Regions from separate parts of the Homo sapiens genome. Here regions 2, 3 and 4 are each linked to region 1. The links are contacts of gene promoters, found by promoter capture Hi-C in blood cells and fetal thymus (Javierre and others, 2016). All regions are on one chromosome and are shown on one strand. The core of a region is centred on a gene start or on the middle of the fragment in contact, and the rest is flanking DNA. Distances in the headings are between cores, read along the strand shown. Region 1 holds the start of SUMO4 (small ubiquitin like modifier 4). Region 2 has its middle 65 kb from the start of UST-AS2. Region 3 overlaps UST (uronyl 2-sulfotransferase). Region 4 has its middle 48 kb from the start of UST-AS2.

Region 1 (3,316 bases), core at 1-2,500:
TTTTATATTTTTCTGTGGAATTGATCCTTTTACCATTACATAATAATCTTTGTCTCAAGTTTTAGACTTAAAAATCTATTGTTTCTGATATAATTATAGCCACTTTTGATTTCTTTTAGCTACCATTTATATAAAATCTTTTTCCATCCCTTCACTTTCTGCCTATGTGTGTCTTTAAATATAAAATGAGTCTCTTGTAGATAGTATATTATTGGATCCTGTTTTTATTTTTATTTCATTTTAAACAAAAAGTTTATTTAAATAAGAAGCCTGACTTGAAGGAAAAACTTTCTAGGATTCTTTCTTTTTTTTTTAGAGTAATTTATCCCTACTTAAAGACAGATTGCCCTACATGTAACAGCTATGTACACAAAAGTTATAAAATTGTCCTTGGTTTTACAATGATAAATGAAAAACATGAAAATCCTCCAATTGAACAAGGTATGTGAGAATTTTTTTTTGTTGTTGTTAAAACAGTGAGAGCAAAATAACTTACTAGAATATAAAGATAAGACCTGAATGAACATGCCACTAATGGATAAAGGGGGTATTTTCACAGAATCAGTATTTTTTCCCATCCTGTCTCCACTTGATGTCAATCAAAACATACCATTGGCTGTTTGGTTTGAAGAAAAAAGCAATATGCTTGTGTACACATACCAGTTACTTCATGTATAATAAAAGAATGTGGAAGGGGGAAACAAAAGAATAGAGAAAACTATACTGTAGTAGTCAGAATGTGGTGGAACCAAATTGCAGTTTTCTAATTGAGAATGCAGTAATCTTGGTCTTTAAAGAACAGCGTTCTGGAGTAAAGAAGCAGGTTCCCTTTTCAGTAGACACCTCCCGTAGGCTGTTGAAACACATCAATTGTATCTTCATCTTCCATTTCCAACTGTGCAGGTTTGTCTGTTCCACTGATTGGTTGCCCACCAAATCGGAATCTGATCTGCTTCACTGACAATCCCCGTGGTTCACAATAGGCTTTCATTAGTTTACTAAGTGGTGTCTGCCTCTTAATCTTAAACTGCACCACAGAACCATCCTGTCCCGCCACCTTCAAATTAATATGATTGTTGTTCTCAGTCTTGACTTCTTCTGTGGGCTTTTCGTTGGCCATGGTGAACACCGGAGTCTCCTCAGCTGCTGCTTCACAAAAGAGGTGGCGGGTCCGCACCTAACGAGTACACGAGCAGCAGGAAGAGCAGCAGGAGGTGACAGCGGTGGATGAGGGAGAGGGTGCGTGCACATCCTGGGCTCCCTCCCCTCCCGCTGTGTGCGCCAGCACGAGCTGTTGGGGCCTCCCATTGGCTGCTGCCAGATCCTGTTTTTAAAATCCATTCATACAACTCCTTGTGAGTGGTGAGTTTAATCCATTTCCAGTTAAGGTAATTACTAATAAGTGAGGACTTACTATTGGCAGTTTGTTGCTTCCTGTCTATTTGACAACTGTTTTGCTCCTCTTTTCCTCTTATTGTCTTGTTATTCGACAACGTTTAATCGTGATTTACTTTGATTATATTTGGTTATACTCTTCTATTTTAAGTTGATAACAACTTAACTTCAAATGCATACAAAAATACTACTGCATCTTTACAACCTCCACCCTCCCACACTTTTGTGTTCTTGCAGTTTTCTTCTTTTAATATTATGTATCCATTAACACATTTTTACCTTTTAACTTTCTTATTAGAGTTGAAAGTAAATTATATACCACGGTTAAGTGTTAATCTGTAAATATGTCTATATTTTTACCTTCAGCAGTGATATTTATGTACCTGTTTCCATTTCTACACACATTTTAATGCCTGGATCAAAACACACAGACATACTTTGAAATGTCTTAGTTTGGTGTGCATATATTCTGAGAATATCAATGATGTAAAATGATAGAAGGTAGAAAACTATTCACCTGGAATTTAGGGTATTTTGATTACTTAAAGTTATATATAAATTAAACTAAATACTCATGGGGGGGGGGAACTTCCCTAAGGTATCTTCCTTATCATTTGTCTAAAGTTTTAAATGATACAAATTTTTGTACTTAGTAATTGTTTTTTAACCAAGACTTGCTATTATTGGTTGGGAGTACATAGTGTTTCCTAAGCTCGTGCATATTACTTTTAAAAAGCTAAGAATATTACATCTTTGCATCCTTCCCAACCCCAAGCATGTAAATGAAAATAAGCAAACATCTTCTTAATGAATTCATTTAAGAATGCCAAAGTTTGAAGCAATTCTAGAGAGGAAGGTTGCTGAACAGGAAAAATTTTCTAAAATTTTGCTTTTCAAAAGTAACAGTTTTCACATTTAATGGATACACTAACCTTTGGGTTTTGGTGGCACAGGACCTACAAATCCAATATTGTCATAAAAGTTATGAATAGCGCTGGGGTTAAAATGTGGTCCTGAAATATATAAAAAGTAAATATATCAATGCTTATAGCTCAAAAACAACTTTACTTTTTAAAACAAGTATTTCTTTCTAAAAATAAACACGCTATAAGAAATGCTTTTCATTTATTTTGCCCCTCTAACCTCGAATTATATGTAAGATTTCAAAACATATTTCAAATATATTATCTTAGGTATAATGTAGTACTCATAAACACGGGTAAGTGGTAAACTGTGAAAGAAGTCAAATTAATGCTGGTAAGACATTAATAGAAGTAGAAGTAGATCCCTGTTCTATGTGGCAAGTTAAAATAACTTAAAATTTCACAATTTAAAATGTAATTTTAAACGATCAAACATGGACTTAAGTAACTAAACAGCTTTACCTCAAGTAAATATAAAAACCTTGCACTATGTAATAGAATGGTTAAAATTTTACACAAAAAGAGTAAGTTCAAGGATTGTAGTTTCTAGAACAGCACCAACTTTTTAGAGTTAAATTATGGTATTTTTCTATGAATGTTTAAAGATAAATAGCTTAATCAACATTTAAAAAGAATAAAAATAAAAATAATCATCTTCCAGTTGAACAGATTCTAGAACACAGTCCCAAGTGTGATTAAAGACTTCTCTTTTGGTTAGATTCCTTCCCCTTCCTGTCTTTTCCATTTTATATCTTTTTATTATTTATCCAACTTCAGAATTAGGTTTAAGTGATAACATTTCCTTTTAGTTCTCTATGGAACTGAATTAAATTGTAAACATTATTTACTATAAGAAAACATTGCTTGTCATTAATAGCTCAAGTATAAGAAACTATCATTGTCTAAAGAATGTATAAACCTTATTTTTACTATCTTCTATATTTTATCAGTTAAGATAGTGCCATTGAGATGGGGGTGACTTTTTAAATATATTCTTA
Region 2 (3,392 bases), core at 462-2,961, 300 kb after region 1:
ATGGTGAATATTGACCTTTTGTTTCCATATTTAAGATCGCTTTGGACATTTCCTGTAGAGTGGGTCTAGTGGTGACAAATTCCCTCAACGTTTGCTTGTCTAGGAAAGCCTATATGTCTCCTTCATTTATGAAGCTTATTATGGCAGGATATAATATTCTTGACTGACAGTTATTTATTTTATTTTATTTTTTTCATTTCAGTACTTTGAAAATGCAATCTCATTCTCTTCTGGCCTGTGAGGTTTCTGCTGAAAAGCGTGATGGTGTTTCCTTCATAGGAGACTAGACAATTTTTCTCTTGCTAATTTTAAAATTATTTCTTTCACTTTGACTTTAGACATTCTAAATATAATATGCCATGATGAAGTCCTTTGTGCAATGTATTTACCTGGAGATCATTGGGCTTCCTGGATCTCGATGTCTAAATGTCTTGATAGACTTGGGAAGTTTTCATCAATTATTTTCTTAAATAGGTTTTCTAAACGTTTTGATGTCTCTTCCTCCTTGGGAATAGTGATAATTCATAAGTTTGCTTGTTTTATATAGTACCAGTCATCTTGAAGACTTTGTTCATTTTAAAATTCTTTTTTCCTTATTTTTGTCTCACTGGATTATTTCAAAAGACCTGACCTCAAGTTTTGAGATTCTGTGTTCTACTTGGTGTAATCTATTATTGAATCTTTTGAATGTATTTTGCATTTTCTTCAATAAATGTTTTAGTTCCAGAATTTCTGCCTTTTAAAAAGATATCTGCCTGCTTGGTAAGTTTCTCATTCATAGCCTGAGTTGACTTTCTAGTTTCTTTGTATTGGTTTTCAGATTATCTTGCATCTCATTGAGCTTCTTTAAAATCAATATTTTGAATTCTTTATCTGGCATTTTGGGGAATTCGTTTTGATTGGGATCTGTTGCTGGGCAATTCTTATTGTCCTTCGATGATGTCATATTTCCCTGTTTTTCATGTTTCCTGTGTCTTTCTGTTGATATCTGCTCATCTAGTATAGTAGTTGCTTGTTTCATTTTTTTTGAAATTGCTTTTGTGGGGGAGAATTTTTTCTTAGGAATGTATGTATGTTGATTGAGTAAACTACTTTGACTTTGATTTTGGTTGCCTGTGGTACTGTGATCTTTGTGTGACTTCCTTGGCAATATACAGTATCAGTGGTATCTGTGATTTCCTTGGTGACTTAGGGTACAGTTATTAGTTGAGGTTGTGGTGAAGTTTTGCTGGGGACTTGGACACCAACTGAGCCAGTCTTCAGGCCCAAGTATCAGCAGTGGAATAAATGTGCCTCTTTTTAGGCACTGGCTCTGGTGTTAGTGGACTCTGGAGCACTGATGCTTGGGGCTCCAGGTGGCTTGCTTAGAAGCTAGTAGTAATAGTAGTGGGCTAGGTGTGTGGGTGGGTTCTCAGGCCCCTGGGAAGCTGGTGTCATGTGGGTGATGGCAGTAGCAGTGGTGGAGCAACCCACTGGGACCCAAGCAGTTCAAATAGGTATTGCTAGAAGCTGCAATAGGTTGGGTGAGCCAGTCCTCCACCCCACAGATGCCTGTAGAAGGGTAGTGGGTATTGTCCTAAGTGTGCTTAAGGGAGCTTGGTCTCCCCTGTCCCTTCCCTGGCTGGGTGGCAGCTGCAGCCTCATCACCTCTACTTGGTCTGAGGGTGGGGCACAGCCCAGGGTTAAACTCTAAAAATCATGCTAGCTGTGGGCTTGCGACAAGAGAATATGAGGGCCCACTAAGGCAAGCAGTGTGTGCAAGAAGCTATGGGGAGTGCAGCCCATTCAAGTCTGAGTTTCATAGCAGCCCATAGCAGAGTGGTGGATATTGTTTTAGGTATGCATAGGGGAACCTGGTTTTCCTGTCCCTCCTTGGCCAGGTGGTGGCTGCAGCCATGTTAGCCCAAGCTCAGCCCAAAAGTCTCAAGCCCAGCATTAATGTCTTAAAATAGTGTCTTGGGCTTGGGACCAGGGAGGATGGTATCCATCCCAGGCAAGCAGCATAGGCCAGAAGCTGTGGGGAGTGTAATCTACTCACATCTCAGTTTCATAGCAGCCCACTGCAGGGCAGTGAGTATTCTCCTGGATGTGCATAAAATAGCCTGGTTTCCCTGTCTCTCCTTGGCTGGGCAGCAGCTGCCACCATGTCAGCCTGAATTCAAACCAAGTGTGGGTCATAGCACAGTGTTAAATTCTCAAAATGGCACCTTGGGCTTACCAGAAGGAGCAGGGCCTTAAGGGCAAGAAGCTGTGGGAGGTAATACACATTTTTGGAATGTCTCCAAATGTGAAGTTCTGAGTAGCCACTGGTAGGTGAATGAAGGAATAAGCCCTGCAGAAGTTCACAGGGTAGCTGGGGGAGCCAGACATGAATGCAAACTCTGAGGGCAATATTAATAGAACTGAGTAAATAGCTATTAGAATGAATAGACAATTAGCTAGAATGATTTTATCCACAATAACTTTGGATCAATGGGGATTCATTATCTGTAACCTCCAGGCTCTTCACTTTGAACATGGACAAAGACACCTGGATCATTGAGATTCTCAGTTAAACAGCACATAGCTGAGTATACAGTCACCAGAAATCCTAAGATCTTACTTGAATGGTCATTGTATTGGCTTAGTTCTTACAATCTCAATGATTGGTGCTTCTTTAATGACTGAGAGTCTGGCTTGGGTGCCCCTTCTCTTTTTTTCCATGACACCCTTTGGCTGAAGAGAATAGACACAGCAGTAAAGGGAAGGACAGGAGAAACAGTGTCCCTGGAGGGTCCTTAAGACTGGTCATTTCCTTATGCTTCTTTAAGAGTTGAATGTGTGATGAGAATTTCCCCTTTCTGAAGGTGCAGGCTGCTGGGAAAGAATGTGTGTGCAGGGGTAGTGGTGGGGGAGATGTGTGGGGAGATAGGACAGGAACACACTTCTTTCTGCTTTATGCATGAAGGGAAAACCACACAGATCTATCCCATCGTGCTTTAAGCCTCCTTAACACTGGAAAGCACTATCTCTACTCAGGGCACCAGCCACTCTGACCTTGAATGTTTTCTATACAAAGTATATACATCAATAGACAGCTGGCATCCACCATTTTTAACTACACTGGACCTGTCTGGGAACAATAATAAACCTTTATCATCCCACGCAGCATTTCCAAGCATATGGTCATTGATGCTTGCTCCAAACTTGTTCAATAAATTTTAGAATAAATTCTTTTTTTCTTATGTTGGCTTAGAATTCAAATAATTTCTGTTGCAGTGTGATCTCAACCTCAGTGCCAGAAGCTTTCCTATGCAGCTTCCTTTTCTTTATATAGTGACTGTGATTTTCAATGTATGGATTTGTTTGATTCCTGTGATCCCAATTATTCCTCAGCTTATGAAGATGTATCT
Region 3 (3,206 bases), core at 149-2,648, 380 kb after region 1:
CAGGTTGTTGGTTAAGTCAGTCACTGTACAGGAGCAGGCTGGGTGTTCGCTCCTGGTCTTCACGATCACATTTTATGTGACATTTTGTCATTTTATCCAAAGAGAAAGACAAACAACATGGGATGAGTAGTGACAAGTATGTTTTAGGTATAAACAAGGGTTTGGTTCCAGTTACAAAGCTTTATATGGTGGTCTCCTGAGGCCTCTACAGACCCTGATTTTTAAATTTCATTATTTATAGGACATTTGGAGTCTCAAATATTATCTTGAAAGATTAATAGTAAACAGGAACTGAATTCCAGAAGGTTGAGAGACTAGGGATACAAAAGATTCCCACCGAGTACCAGGCTGGTGGGGTTCTTGCCCTTGTTGTGCGTACGTGCATGCCATGACCCTGCTTTAGCCCTTACCTGCATCTGGGATGCTGTCCACAAAAGTACGGAATGATGTAAAATAACCTGGGGTTGGAGCACTCGGGATAGTTTTCAAGAATACACTCATTGATATCCTAGAAGAGAAAATACAGCAGTCAGATGTCTTGTAGTCTCTGCAAGGCTCTATCAAATGCCACACAGTTTAAGTAAAATTCATGATTGAATTACACAGGCACGCCTTGAGAAGATGAAGAGAATTCACAGATTTCATGAGAAAACTTATTTTTTGCCTCCCAGCATCCTGCTCCACTGGCCAGGCACACACAGGGCTGGGCCATTTTAGAGAGTGCATGCTCTGTTGAGTAAACTGCATCTCTGCACTTCCTGGTGGCTCCGAGTCTTAAGTTTGGTCACAGGCCTTGGGAGAACAGTGGTACCCACTGTGCTTCGTGGTGGCGCCACCAGTTGCCAGCCAATTAGTAGGTATACAGTTGGCAATTAATAAATGTTTGTTGCATGAATTTAGGGCTTCTCTGTGTATCCATGCATCCAACAACTAAGTACCTACAATAGTCTCATAAGAGTTTGCAAATTTTAGAGGAGCTGTAAAATCACTTCTAACACTATATTAGCTTAAAAAGTAGCAGGATGTTTATATACAGACACCCTCTCACTTTCAAAGGCAACAGTTGTGACGTCCAGGTTTTCCATTTCTCTTATATGAGGTTGGACATGGTGTTTCTGAGGGCGTTACCAGAGCTTGAAATGGCTTGGTGGGGGTAAGCAGAAGGGCTCAAAACCAACTTTTATCAAGGTAGATCATATTAGAGATTCTAAATAAGACATGCCTCATTCTCAGGTATTTCTAAGGAGAAAAGATAACTCAATCTACAAATAAACCAAACAGCTGTAGGATGTTTTTCCAGAGACTATACTGGCAAGGCAGATTAAGACTGGACACAACTCCCAAATATGGTTGATGAAATTATGAGTCGGTAGAAGCTACTGTATCTGATATACATGTGTGGGTGTAGGTGTTTAGGTGTGGGTGTTTAGCTAGTAACAATTTTTTTAGTTCAAATTGGGAATGAGAGAAATATAATTTATGCTTTTTCTTAAAAACAATAATCCCCTCATACTTCTTCAGTTTATATGCCAATTAAGTAAATTACACAATTACAATAACAAATTCAACGGAAATAAACAGAATCTGCAAAAAACACAATTGAGAGTACTCAAGCACTTGAGTTTACCATGAGAGGCGGAGGTGCAGTTTCCAGGGAGGAACATATGAGAAGTGAATAGGGGGGTGCATATGTCTGTCCAGCCATGTGGTGAGGGTGATTAAGAGCATCTCATTGTGTATGAAAACCCATTAAAATGCAAGACACTAGACCTGAAATACCTTTCTAAGAAGAGTTTGACACTGACAGATGTGTGTGTGTGTGTGTGTGTGTGTGTGTGTGTGTGTGTATATATGGATATTCATTGCTGCAATGAGTTTATTTATTACAACAAAATATGGCAGAATTTACATGTTCACGAACGGGGGATTGGTTTTAAGAGAAATTATGGTACATTCACACACTGAAATACTGGATACCTGGAAAAAATGAGAAGGATCTGTGTGTGCTATCCTGAAAAGTCTTGGATAAATTTTCAAGTGAATGAAAGTATAGACTACAGGACAATATAAACATGTAGGACAATATAAAAATCAACATGTTTACATAAACACAAAAGGATCTGGAAGGAGACACAGCACACGATTGAAAGCAGTTTTTTCTGGTGGTTGGCATAAAGGAAGATGAGAATATACTGAATTTTTCCTTATTCCTTTTTTGAAGTGTTAGCTTTTATTACAATGTACGCATCTTACTTTTTTTGTTTTTTTTTTTGAGACAGAGTCTTGCTGTCCCCCAGGCTGGACTGCAGTGGCGTGATCTCGGCTCACTGGAAGCTCCACCTCCCGGGTTCACGCCATTCTCCTGCCTCAGCCTCCCGAGTAGCTGGGACTACAGGTGCCCGCCACCACACCCGGCTAATTTTTTGTATTTTTAGTAGAGATGGGGTTTCACCGTGTTAGCCACGATAGTCTCCATCTCCTGACCTCATGATCCGCCCGCCTCGGCCTCCCAAAGAGCTGGGATTACAGGCGTGAGCCACTGTGCCCGGCTGCATCTTACATTTATTGTGAGAAAACTGTACAGAGATTTACACACTGTGAAACAAACCAAAGCTTGTGCGGGCGGGTGCCTGTGCTTTGCCTTGAGGATGCTCTGAGCCCCCTGCCCTGCTCACATTTGAGGGTGTCCTCTGGTAGTTGGCCTCCCCTTGGAACCTGAGCCTTTAGTCCGAGGGACCCAATAACCCTGGTGGCCTCCCTCTGCAGCAGTGGCAACAGGGAGGGGGCCAGGAGCTGGGTGAGAAGCAGAGCCTAGGGTGATTCTGGCCAGGACAGTGTTCATCTGCTGAGGTCGAGATTTCACAAAGAAGGACGGAGTAAAGTGATGGGGAACATCCAAAGAACTGTCACATACGCAGTCAGCCCCCCAGAGTCCTGCATTAACAGGAGGAGCAGGGCATCAGAGACCGCCAGAGCCTCCTACAGAGGCTCTCATGGCACCTGCTGCTTCTCCAGAGCTGCCCTTGAGCAAGTACTTGTGTGCTTATTTGTTTAGGTTGTAGGTCCCTCAGAGCACAGACTGTTCACTGCATCTCCAGTGCTCAGCACCCTGCCTGGACTAAAGCAGGAGTGCAATAGATACTGAATGAGTGAGTGAATAAATGGCAGAAGGAGAGAGACAAGGCACACTGCTCCAGAGCAAGAAA
Region 4 (3,186 bases), core at 623-3,122, 320 kb after region 1:
AACTGAAAGATGATTCCTTGTTATTTTCTAAAAATGTTATTTGTCCCCATCTTCTTTTTATCAACATGTTCGTCATCTGATGCAAATATATTTTCTTCAAGCACGATGCACGGACCAAAATTGAACCACAGCAAGAGGAAAACAAGTCTTCCAATGAGGAAAAATGTAATCCAATAATTTGCATTAAAGCATTGTTTCTCAAAGTGTAGTCTCCAGAACACTAGTTCCACAGGATATCAATGGGTCTTATGCAAATAAGGGTTTCATGGCAAATACTTTTGAGAAATTTGAAATTCAACAAAAGATCAATTAATTTTTAAAAATGCTTCAGTATGCATGAGTCCTTAGTATACTCTGAATATACTACCATACTGTGTAACACCACACTATGAACTGCAGCACTTCCAAAATTATTTAACACGATTTTTTTTCATGCCTATCTCACACACTTGGTTCATGAATTATCCTTTGAGAATACACATTGGACTAGAATTTCACTAGTTTCCAAAGATGGACACCATACAGGAAAGTGTGCCAAAAGGAGAAAAAGCAAATAGTAAATTTGATATGTGCAAAACTTAAGGTGACTATAAGGAAGTTTGTGGTCAGTGTCTTAACTCTCTTCTGCATTTGAAAGATTAGTAATACAACACATTAAAGTTTTTCAACATGGCAGTCCTATGGGGAATCAACCATGCTGGAAACATCACCAGCCCACAAAATCATTGCCAGATTTTTCCCACATCACAGCAGTAACACTACTTCTGAGAATGAGAAATGACCCTCCAAGAAGTTTAGTACCCCCGTCCTGCCAGGTTTCCAATTTTTACTAACACTTTTCTTTGTGCACAACCTGTATTAATTCACATGGATGTTTTAGGCTCATTATTACCATTAGTCATGGGATCACAGATACACACAGTAGTTTAAATAAGTTAGAGGAAGCCTGTATTTAGTACAAGCTGTGAATTAGAGCTGAATCTTCTAACTTGCAGCTAGACAAACTCGTCCCAAAGAATGCTTGAGAAAAGTGGAATTCCACAGACTGGTTTATCTTGGATAATGGCACAGTAAACAGAACAGTGGAAACCAGGCCAGGAGGAAGGGACCGATGCTTCTTCAGGACAGGTCCTTGCTGCATTTGCTCTATCTCATGCCCAGGAGGATGTGCCTACTCCTGGGAGCTCAATTCACATTTCAGAAATGCTGCTGTCCATCGACTCACAGCATACTGGGCAATGCCACTTGCAGACATGAAGGAACGGGGGCTTCAGGCAACCTGGAATGACTATATGTAATTCTATGCCCTCTTGCTGGGGATACAGTGTTCTGTGGTGAGAACAAACCTTTCATCAGCTTAGGAAGTGTTGTGGCTCAGTCTTTTAGCATTTAGGGGTCAAGGGTGGGAAATGGTTCATCCCAGAAGCAGCTCTTGGTTTTCAGTAGATGTTTTATTTTCTTTCTAATGTTTTCCAGCTGAGTCGATTTCAGACCGATGGAGGTCAAATGATTTACACTGATGCCCAGTGAAACAGAACAGCTGGGACTTGAACTCGGGGACTTGACTGGTGGGCAGCCCCCAGCCTAGTCAGTCAAATGCTCTCCTCCCAGGTTTTTACTGCCTCTCTGGTTGCACCTCAAAGGCAGCCTGCTGTGTCTGGCAGGGCCCATCTCCTGGGCCGTGTCTGCTCCTGACTGGAATAAGAGGCCTGTGACAGGTCAAGTCTGAATGTTCTGGCAGAGCGGCACAGGGCAGACTGCTCCACCCCTGCTCAAAGCACACAGCGTCTGGTGAAAGCCAGATTGAAGATAGCTAAATGCGCATGCCAAGATTCCAAAAGGAAAAACTTAGCTCTCAACTTTCCTTTGCATGGTGATTTTTCATCCTCTCCTTTTTCTTTTTGTAAAAAGGGAATCCCCATGTTTACAAGTTGAAATCCAAAATGCACAAGTGGTCAGTTCACAATTCTGTGACCCATGAACATCTGTGGGCCTGGGTGTTCCTTGGGAATCTGCAGTGCTTGGAGCAGTGAGCCAAGCCTGCCCTGGCAGAAGGGAATTCTCCAGTGAGTCAAATAGTCCTGCGAGTGCCCGGGGTCTGCTTCTCCTCTGGTTCTGCTTTCCTGGGACATGTCTGTACTTGACTTCCCCTAGTTTTATGAACTGCATTTTGACTATATTTTTGGAGGTGGGTCCATCTGAAACTCGTTACAGGAAGTAGGACAAGAATCTTCATTTTGCCTTTAAGAGAAATAAAACTCTGTAATCTGAGATGGGCAAACATGCTCCAAGTCTGTTTACCAAGGAACAAGAACCTCTCTGTGTCTTTTGAGCAGACAGAAAAATTAAAAATAAAATATTTATTTGGGATTTGTCTCTGAGGACTTCAGTGACTGAAAACCAATAGGGCCTCCCCTCCCTCTGTGGAAAGGCGAGTTCCAAAGCCCCGGCTCCCAGGAGAGCCCTATGGTGAGGCTGCTCCAGTACAGCAGGTGGCAGTGGGTGTGGCTGAAAGTGCCTCATCACTTTCATTCTGGATCCTAGGTCTGTAGATGGGCTTTGGCTATATCATCTTTTTAAAGTTTTAATTTGGTAGCTGCTTCAAAAGTTAAGGGAACCCTCAATGGGCAAAGTTAGCATGTGACATATTTGTGTCTCCTCTTTGGACCTTGGTTTTCCTTGTCTGTAAAATGAGGGAATGGACCAGATCACTGCTCCAGAGCCCCAATGCAACTATAGGAATCTGCACTTTGAGGCTTGCTTCTCTCCTAGTAGGAATTCAGTTCCTCTGCCCTAACTTTTCTGCTATAGTCTGGGTGTTATGGGCTGAATTGTGTGTCCCCCACAAATTCATATATGAAAGTCTTAACCAAGTATCTCAGAATGTGAGCATTTTTGGAAATAGGATCTGTATTAGTCTGTTTTCACACTGCTAATATTAAGACATACCCAAGACTGGATAATTAATAAAGGAAAGAGGTTTGATTGATTCACTGTTCAGCATGGTTGGAGAGGCCTCAGGAAACTTACAATAATGGCAGAAGGGGAAGCAAACATGTCCTTCTTCACATGGTGGCAGCAGCAAGAAGAAGCGCCCAGCAAAAGGGGAAAAGCCCCTTATAAAACCATCAGATGTCATGAGAACTCACTATCACGAGAACAATAGCATGGGGGTAACCACCCCCA

Evidence for each region. The method cuts DNA at HindIII sites, captures the fragments that hold promoters and counts their contacts. A CHiCAGO score of 5 or more calls a contact.
Region 2: a contact is called between a fragment that was not itself captured here and the fragment with the promoter of SUMO4 in region 1, in 9 of 17 cell types (naive CD4 T cells, activated CD4 T cells, naive CD8 T cells and 6 more). The highest score is 11.1, in naive CD4 T cells.
Region 3: a contact is called between a fragment that was not itself captured here and the fragment with the promoter of SUMO4 in region 1, in 1 of 17 cell types (non-activated CD4 T cells). The highest score is 6.9, in non-activated CD4 T cells.
Region 4: a contact is called between a fragment that was not itself captured here and the fragment with the promoter of SUMO4 in region 1, in 13 of 17 cell types (activated CD4 T cells, total CD4 T cells, naive CD8 T cells and 10 more). The highest score is 16.5, in activated CD4 T cells.

What each region holds. Positions count from the first base shown.
Region 1 is chr6:149,398,196-149,401,511 of GRCh38, reverse strand. It overlaps SUMO4 (small ubiquitin like modifier 4), which reads right to left and starts at 1,250. Exons shown (of 1, transcript NM_001002255.2): 1 at 234-1,250. The coding sequence starts at 1,120. The coding sequence ends at 833. TAB2 (TGF-beta activated kinase 1 (MAP3K7) binding protein 2) reads right to left here. Exons shown (of 7, transcript NM_001292034.3): 6 at 2,328-2,408. The HindIII fragment of the contact is 27,910 bases long and covers 1-3,316 here.
Region 2 is chr6:149,095,557-149,098,948 of GRCh38, reverse strand. No RefSeq gene overlaps it. Among named protein-coding and RNA genes, the nearest start is that of UST-AS2, 65 kb to the right of the region's middle. The HindIII fragment of the contact is 3,150 bases long and covers 137-3,286 here.
Region 3 is chr6:149,016,441-149,019,646 of GRCh38, reverse strand. It overlaps UST (uronyl 2-sulfotransferase), which reads right to left. Exons shown (of 8, transcript NM_005715.3): 6 at 411-508. Among named protein-coding and RNA genes, the nearest start is that of UST-AS2, 15 kb to the left of the region's middle. The HindIII fragment of the contact is 2,434 bases long and covers 182-2,615 here.
Region 4 is chr6:149,078,930-149,082,115 of GRCh38, reverse strand. No RefSeq gene overlaps it. Among named protein-coding and RNA genes, the nearest start is that of UST-AS2, 48 kb to the right of the region's middle. RefSeq lists an enhancer at 2,024-2,143. The HindIII fragment of the contact is 6,234 bases long and covers 1-3,186 here.